Linked DNA regions of Homo sapiens: all the other regions are linked to region 2. Evidence: promoter capture Hi-C in human tissues and cell types (Jung and others, 2019). All regions are on one chromosome and are shown on one strand. Each heading gives the region's core, a stretch centred on a gene start or on the middle of the fragment in contact. The rest is flanking DNA. Distances are from core to core; before and after follow the strand shown. Region 1 overlaps ZMYM4 (zinc finger MYM-type containing 4). Region 2 holds the start of ZMYM4 (zinc finger MYM-type containing 4). Region 3 has its middle 31 kb from the start of SFPQ.

The links. Contacts are between HindIII fragments. The study calls those that stand out against the background at their distance.
Region 1: a contact is called between a fragment that was not itself captured here and the fragment with the promoter of ZMYM4 in region 2, in 2 of the 25 tissues and cell types used here (hippocampus and mesenchymal stem cells).
Region 3: a contact is called between a fragment that was not itself captured here and the fragment with the promoter of ZMYM4 in region 2, in 3 of the 25 tissues and cell types used here (H1 embryonic stem cells, liver and mesendoderm cells).

Annotation. Positions count from the first base shown.
Region 1 is chr1:35,334,295-35,336,994 of GRCh38, forward strand. The region is part of intron 2 of ZMYM4 (zinc finger MYM-type containing 4); the gene reads left to right. Among named protein-coding and RNA genes, the nearest start is that of ZMYM4-AS1, 30 kb to the right of the region's middle. The HindIII fragment of the contact is 3,886 bases long and covers 1-2,700 here.
Region 2 is chr1:35,267,353-35,270,052 of GRCh38, forward strand. It overlaps ZMYM4 (zinc finger MYM-type containing 4), which reads left to right and starts at 1,357. Exons shown (of 30, transcript NM_005095.3): 1 at 1,357-1,733. The coding sequence starts at 1,695. RefSeq lists enhancers at 1,047-1,106, 1,127-1,186 and silencers at 1,317-1,676, 1,747-1,876. The HindIII fragment of the contact is 5,206 bases long and covers 604-2,700 here.
Region 3 is chr1:35,160,929-35,163,628 of GRCh38, forward strand. No RefSeq gene overlaps it. Among named protein-coding and RNA genes, the nearest start is that of SFPQ, 31 kb to the right of the region's middle. The HindIII fragment of the contact is 8,860 bases long and covers 1-2,700 here.

The DNA of each region.
Region 1 (2,700 bases), core at 199-2,698, 67 kb after region 2:
GGTGACAGAAAGAGACCTTCTTTCTAAAAAATAAAAAAGCACTTTAATACCTCACATTTCCACCAGCAGTGTAGTAAGAACACCTTCCCCCATCCATTAGTATATATTATAGCTCTTCTTAATATTTCCCAGTCTGATGGATGTAAAATATCACAGCCTTAACTTTAATTTGTATGTTCTCAACTCCTGTAGAATTTGAGCAGCTTTTAATAAGTTTAACATTTAGACTGGCTTTCTCTGTATTGTCTAGTAATAAATATTTGTTGAAGAATGAATATCTTTTGCCCTTTAAAAAAAGTTTACTTTTTCTTCATAGCAAGTTGTAAGCTTGTTTTATATTTTAATAATAGCTGTTATGGTGAGTCACAGTAAGCACAGTAAAGCATACATCTGAAAGAAGATTCAGATATACATAATAGACAATCACTATTCATTCAGGATTTTTAACTTTGAGAATGCATAATGTAAAGTTCTTTTGATGGGGGCAGGAGTTCTGATTTCCCTCATTTGACTCCCTTTTTGTGTCATCTTGAGCTAAATAAATGTTTTTGACACTTAAACATTTTGGTATCGTTTATGACATCTGGGTTTTCAGTCTTGTTTAAGAAAGTTTTTCTCACTCCTTAGTTATTTCTCGGAATACTTCGAAAACTTTTTATAAATTATTAAACACAAAATAAACTTACAATGTAAGATATATTTTATGAAAACGCTTAACCACTTAGCTTTTTAAAATGTATATTTTCATGCTCTTGATGCCAATTTCCCAGTCTCATACAAGTAGCCACCTCTCCAAAAAGGTAGCCATCATCCTGAATTTTGTGTTTATTTTCTTGCTTTTCCTTTACCACAATTATTGAATATTTGTAGTTTTGCTTGGTTTTGAGCTTTGTATTGTTTTTGAATCATGCTGTGTGTTACCACTTGCTTTTATTCCCTATTGCATTTTTTTTTTTTTCCCAGACAGAGTCTCGCTGTGTCACCCAGGCTGGAGTGCAGTGACGCGATCTCGGCTCACTGCGATCTCTGCTTCCCGGGTTCAAGTGATTCTCCTGCCTCAGCATCCCGAGTAGCTGGGACTATAGGCACCCACCACCATACTTGGCTAATTTTTATATTTTTAGTAGAGACGAGGTTTCACCATGCTGGCAAGGCTGATCTCAAACTCCTGACCAGGACTCTTGATCCGTCCGCCTCTGCCTCGCAAATGCTGGGATCACGGGTGTGAGCCACCATGCCTGGCCCTCATTGCGTATTTCTGAGATTTTACTGCATTGTTGTATGCGGTTCTTGTTTATTTGTTTGTCACCAATGCATGATAATTCATTATATAAATATATAACTATTTTAAATTGTGGAAAAAACATAAAATTCTGGGCCAGGCGCAGTGGCTCAACACCTGTAATCCCAGCACTTTGGGAGGTCAAGGTGGGTGGATCACGAGGTCAGGAGCTCGAGACCATCCTAGCTAACACGGTGAAACTTTGTCTCTACTAAAAATATAAAAAATTAGCCGGACGTGATGGCAGGCGCATGTAGTCCCAGCTACTCGGGAGGCTGAGGCAGGAGAATGGCGTGAACCTGGGAGGCGGAGCTTGCAGTGAGCCTGGGCGAGAGAGCGAGACTCCGTCTCAAAAAAACAAAACAAAACAAAAAACCATAAAATTTACCACCTAAGCCATTTTTAAGTGTGCAGTTCAGTAGTGTTAAGTATATTCACATTGTTGTGCAACAGATCTCTGGAACTTTTTCATCCTGCAAAAGTGAAACTCTGTACCCATTGATCAATAAGTCCTCATCACCCCCTCTTCATCCCCTGGCAACCTTAGAAGTTTTATCTTCTAAGAGTTTGACTATGGTAGTAACTGTGTGTACGTTAGCATATCCTCAAGGTTCATCATGTTGTACCTTGTGGAACCATGTTGAACCTTCTTGTACCATGTTGAACATTCTGATACATGTAGCATGTGTTAGAATTGCCTTCATTTTTAAGGTAAAAATGATACTTTAGTGTATCCTCAAGGTTCATCATGTTGAACCTTGTGGTACCATGTTGAACATTCTGACACATGTTGTAACATGAGTCACAATTACCTTTTTTTTTTTTTTGATACAGAGTTTCACTCTTGTTGCCCAGGCTCCAGTGCAGTGGTGGGATCTTGGCTCACTGCAACCTCCACCTCCCAGGTTCAAGCGATTCTCCTGCCTCAGCCTCCCGAGTATCTAGGATTACAGGCGTGTGCCACCATCCCTGGCTAATTTTGTATTTTGGGTATAATTTTGTATTTTTAGTAGAGACAGGACTGTACCACATTGGTCAGGCTGGTCTCAAACTCCTGACCTCAGGTGATCTGCCCACCCCAGCCCTCCAAAATGCTGGGATTACAGGCATGAGCCACCACACCCAGCCAATTACCTTCATTTTTAAGGCTGAATCATATTCAGTTGTTTATGTAATACATGATATGGTTTGGCTCTGTGTCCCCACCCAAATCTCATCTTGAATTGTAATCCCCACATTCAAGGGAGTGACCTGTAGTCCTCATGTCTCTACAAAAGGGAAGTGATTGGATTATAGGGGCAGTTCCCCCCATGTTGTTCTTGTGACAGCGAGTGAATTCTCATGAGGTATCATGGTTTTATAAATGGTAGTTTTCATGTGCTCTTCGTGCTCTTGCCTGCTACCATGTAAGACATGCC
Region 2 (2,700 bases), core at 107-2,606:
CTTCTTTCTTCTCTCCTACCGAGGAGTGAAATTAAAGACAGTGCTAAAGGCATAAGCAAGGCCAGTATGGAAACTTCCAGCAATTTCACCAAAAGTTTTCAGCAAAATATTACAGATTAGAAAACATCTGTTTCAGAATAGCTACCAAGTGCTAAATAAAACAGAAAACAGAAGTTACATCTCATTATCCTGTGACTTCAGGAGTTATCATTCCCACTTGAATATGTCTTGTCATGGGAAATGACCTTCAGGAGGCATCTTCTTTGTATTTCTTACTATATGTCTCCCCACTGTCCCTGAACTATCATTATAAACTTAATTTTTTCTGCACCCAAAGCTTGTGGGAACTAGAATGAACAGAAGAGGAATGAATGAAGCCCTCATTCTTTTCAGCGATTTTCAGCTTAGGACCCAGTTTTGGAACAAGATAGACCCAAATCTACTTCCTGGTTTCCTGCTTAGAAATAAGATGCTTATCCTTTAAGGCAGATTGTCAAGCTCCTTCAATAGAGGTGAATGAGGACACCCATCATCTGCAAATCATTACATCTTCACAAGAGAATTATGATATTCTCCAAATACCATGAAACTTCAATTTTTAATCTTCTAGGGATATCAAATTAAACCAAATTTATCTCTCGCCTGAAGACAGCCTGGAGGACTGAGACTGTAATCTTGATTCCAACTCCACACCAGCCATTAGTTACATTGGGACAAATTCCTTCCCATGATCAGGCTGCAATTTTATCATTGGGAGCACTGGAGTAAATGGTTCCCTAAGATCCTTCTCCATTTTGATGTTCTAAGGATAAATTACTATTGAAGAAATTATTTCCAGTTGTTGGTTCAATCTTCAAAATCACCAAAAGCTTTGATTTTAAGGTGAGGTTATAGGAGTTGGCTCTTGATATTCTATGCCTTGTGCTTCAGAACAGGCAGTCGAAAGGGAGGAAAGTTGGTTTTCCTTGAGATGACTGTCTTGTTCCCTCATTGGTTTGGGATTCTTCATGTTCAGAGGTCCACTGAGAACTTCAGCTTACCATGACTTTCCCTCTTCAATGGTACCACTGTAGTCAGGTGTAAGATGGTGATGTGGAACCCTTCACTGACATTGCACCCAATTCTCCAGATTGTCTTTCCAGTAATTTCTTTCATTTCTCCTTCATCCCTGCGTCATGGTCCCTTTAAGGGAGCGGCCATAGTTGAGTGGTGGGAGCAGCTGCTGGCAGCAAAGAGACTTGCAGGATTTGGCCTACCCATGGCCACTTACCGCGCACGCTCAGGACCGGGGGCTTGGTGGGAAAGGAAGGAGGGACTTAGGGTGCGCCTGCGCATCAGGGGCGCGCGCAAGGGGCTGATTTGGTGATCCCTTTAAGAAACCGCAGGCGGAGGAATTTCTCTGAGAGAAAATAATCCTACTCACGGGGCCCCTTGGAGGCCATTAACCCCCCGAGTCCCGGCCCCCACCCCGTCCCCGGGCAGGCCCTCCCGCCCACGCGCGGACCCGTGGGATCTCAGAAGCTGCGGCCCGGCGCGCGGCATCCGCCCCCTCCCCACTCTCGGCGCAAGGCCCGGCCGGGTCCGGGGAAGCTGCCGCGAGGCGGCCGTGCCTGCAGTGTGGGCGGGGGCCGGGGGGCCGAGAGGTACCGCCGCCACCGCGCGGGGAGCCGCAGCGGTTCCGAGCGGGGCCCAACATGGCGGAGAGAGAGGTGGAGTCCGGCCCCCGAAAGAGGGTAGGTGAGGTGAGGCAGAACTCGGGCGGCGGGGGGCGGGGCGCGGCCCGGGGCCGGGAATGGGCCATACTCAGGTTCGTGGAGGGGTCGCCGAGGCCCAGTTAGGACAAGGTTGCGGGCAGGTCTGAGGCAGCCTTGGGTCCGGAGCGCGCTGGCGAGCGGTCCCTCGGCAGGTGGGACAAAGATTTGGTGCTGGGTGGGGGGGAGGGGAGGGGGCCGTTGTTTGCCTTCCTCCCCCCGACGTTCCCCAGCACTGGGGTGGGATATCTAGGCCCAGGGAGGGGAGGTGTCAGATTCTTAAGTGCATCTTTAGTGCATCTTTAGTACATCAGAGTCTGGAAGTTAACTGGGGAGAGGTCAGGTGGGGGTGGTGGTGGCGGGAATAAGTCGTGGAGGGGTCTCAGGAGAAATAACCGGAGGGTTCTTCAGTAACACCATCGCGAATTCATTTTCCTGCCTCCTTTCCCCTCCCCCCATAGCCGTTATCTAGACCAAAGTCGGGGTGGTGGTCTTACCTGTGAAGAAGTGGGATCGTTGGCATGTCCTGATTTAGGAGAAAGATTTTGGCTACTATGAATGTCATGTTCTAGCCTAGCCTCTTACTCGCAATTAGGGACTTGGAAGAATACGACAAGTTTTCTCATAACAGGGATGTACCCAATCAACCTGCAGAGGTGAAGCCAATTCTACATAGGAGTTGTTTGAATACCTTTTAAAGTTTGTCTGGAAACTTTCCTTATTTAATTCTGAGTGGTTTTTTTCAGATGGCGAACAATACTGTACTATCGATTGAGCAATATCCCTCACTTTTCTTTTACTTCCTCCCCGCTTAGCATGATAAGAAGTAAGTTTCCTTTTAGGAGTCTTCCTTTTGGGAATGGTTTCAGAAACGATCAATTAGCAAAAGGGCAAAAAATTACTACTTTATGAAGAATGCCCTTTCAGCTTAGCGTAAAATTAGTAATCT
Region 3 (2,700 bases), core at 173-2,672, 110 kb before region 2:
ACATATTCCCATTGCAATGCGTAACTCCTGAATAAATCTCTTTTTCTTTTAGAGAGCCTCTTTCTCTTTATTATTTAGATTGACAGTGGTAATGATCTTATTGGTGTATACATATGTCAAACTTTATCAAGTTTGTACTTCAAATATGTGCAGTTTATTGTATATCAATTACTTCATTTAAGCTGTTTTTTAAAATGTTCATTACGTTTTCCTGTGTAAAATGGAAATTCGTGTGACTATTTATAACTTTTTCCAACTTGTTCTGTCTCTGTTAAAACAAATCTGTTGTATTCAGCTTCCAGCTCAGACAGAAAACTGGTACCAGATTTCCCTTAGTGCTGTAAACAACTAGAAAACTGCATGAAGTATACAAAACAACTGCTGTTCATACATGGTATATGTGTTTGCTAGAGCTGCCATAACAAAATACCAGACTAGTGGCTTAAAAAACAGAAATAGGGGCCAGGCGCGGTGGCTCACACCTGTAATCCCAGCACTTTGGGAGGCTGAGGCGGGTGGATCACAAGGTCAGGAGATCGAGGCCATCCTGGCTAACATGGTAAAACCCCGTCTCTACTAAAAATACAAAAAATTAGGCGGGCGTGGTGATGGGCGCCTGTAGTCCCACCTACTCAGGAGGCTGAGGCAGGAGAATGGCATGAACCTGGGAGGCGGAGCTTGCAGTGAGCCGAGATCATGCCACTGCACCCCAGCCTGGGCAACAGAGCGAGACTCCGTCTCAAAACAAAACAAAACACAACAAAAAAAAACAGAAATAGGCCGGGTGCAGTGGCTCACGCCTGTAATCCCAGCACTTTGGGAGGCCGAGGAGGAGTCAGATCACTTGAGGTCAGGAGTTCGAGACCAGCCTGGCCAACATGGTGAAACCCTGTCTCTACTAAAAATACAAAAATTAGCTGGGCATGGTGGCAGGCGCCTGTAATCCCAGCTACTCAGGAGTCTGAGGCAGGAGAATCGCTTGAACCTGGGAGGCAGAGGTTGCAGTGAGCTGAGATTGTGCCACTGCACTCCAGCCTAGGCAAAAGAGTGAGACTCCATTTCAGAAAAAAAAAAAAAAAAAAAGCCAGGAGTGTATTTTCTCACAGTTCTTGAGTGTAGAAGATCAAGATGGCAGTGTTGGCAGGTTTAATTTCTTCTGAGGTCTTTCTCCTTGGCTTGCAGAGGGCAGTCTACTTGCTGTGTCCTTTCCTGGTCCTCATGTGGTCCACTCATCCATGGTGATTCTTCCTTTTCTCATAAAGATATTAGCCGTAATGGAGTAAGGCCTCACCCGTATGCCTTCATTTTACCTTAATTATTTCTTGAAAGGCCCTATCTACAAATATAGTCACATTCTGAGATACACTAGGGGTTAAGACTTCAATTGGATTTTTGGGGGACACAATTCAGTCCATAACACATTGCAAAATAGGCTATACAGGATTGTGATTCTTGAAAAAAGGGTAGTAAATGAGGCAAGCACCTCTGCACTCCAGCCTGGGTGAAAGTGAAACTCATGATTGTCACATGCTGTCTGCCTGGAAGCTTTATCTGATCCATGGTGTAGAGAAGAGGACCCAAACAAGAGCGTGGAGTTCTTGCTGCATTGAGGAGACAGAGTTCAGAGTTTTTTTTTTTTTTTTTTTTTAGACAGAGTCTCCAGTTGCCCAGGCTGGACTGCAGTAGCAGCACAATCTCAGCTCACTGCAACCTACACCTTCCAGGTTCAAGTGATTCTCCTGCCTCAGCCTCCTGTGTAACTAGGATTACAGGCACGCGCCAGCACACTTGGCTAATTTTTGTATATTTAGTAGAGACGGAGTTTCACCATGTTGGTCAGACTGGTTTCAAATTCCTGACCTCAGGTGGTCCACCCACCTCGGCCTCCCAAAGTGCTGGGATTACAGGCATGAGCCACTGAGCCCAGCCAGAGATTGGAGTTTGATAAGGCTGAAGCAGCTGGAACTTGTGGAACAAAATACTAAAAAGAAGGGAGCTATACAGAAAAAGAATCTGCATAAAATTTATTTGGAGTTATTGGCAGAATACTAAATTGTGCAAGTATAGAACAAGACTCCACAAGGTCAGAGAAAAAACAACTATTGAAAAAGGAACAACAACTAGAGAGTTTTATGTTGGACAATTCCTAGAGCTTACAAGGGCTGGGGAGACATTCACATTCTGACTATTCTGAATAGAAGAACCTTGTTATACACCTAAGGCATCCAGTGGAAATACTAGAATTAGGCCTAGAGAAAAAGTCACTCCAGACTTGCTCTATCAAATCTAATTGCCTGCCAAAACAAAACTAATTACTCTTAAAAGTAAGACATTCGACAACATGATATTCACAATGTCCAGGATCTAGTGAAAAATTATTAGACATGTCAAGGAGCAGGAAAATGTGAACCACAGCAGTAGAAAAAATCAGCTAATAGAAAAAAAAAAAAAAAGGTCGGGCATGGTGGCTCACACCTATAATCCCAGCACTTTGGGAGGCTGAGGTGGGAGGATCATTTGAGGTCAGGATTTCAAGACCAGAGTGGCCAACATGGCAAAATCCCGTCTCTACTAAAAATACAAAAATTAGCTGGCCGTGGTGGCATGCACCTCTAATCCTAGCTACTAGGGAGGCTGAGGCAGGAGAATCACTTGAACCCAGGAGGCAGAGGTTGCAGTGAGCCAAGATCATGCCACTGC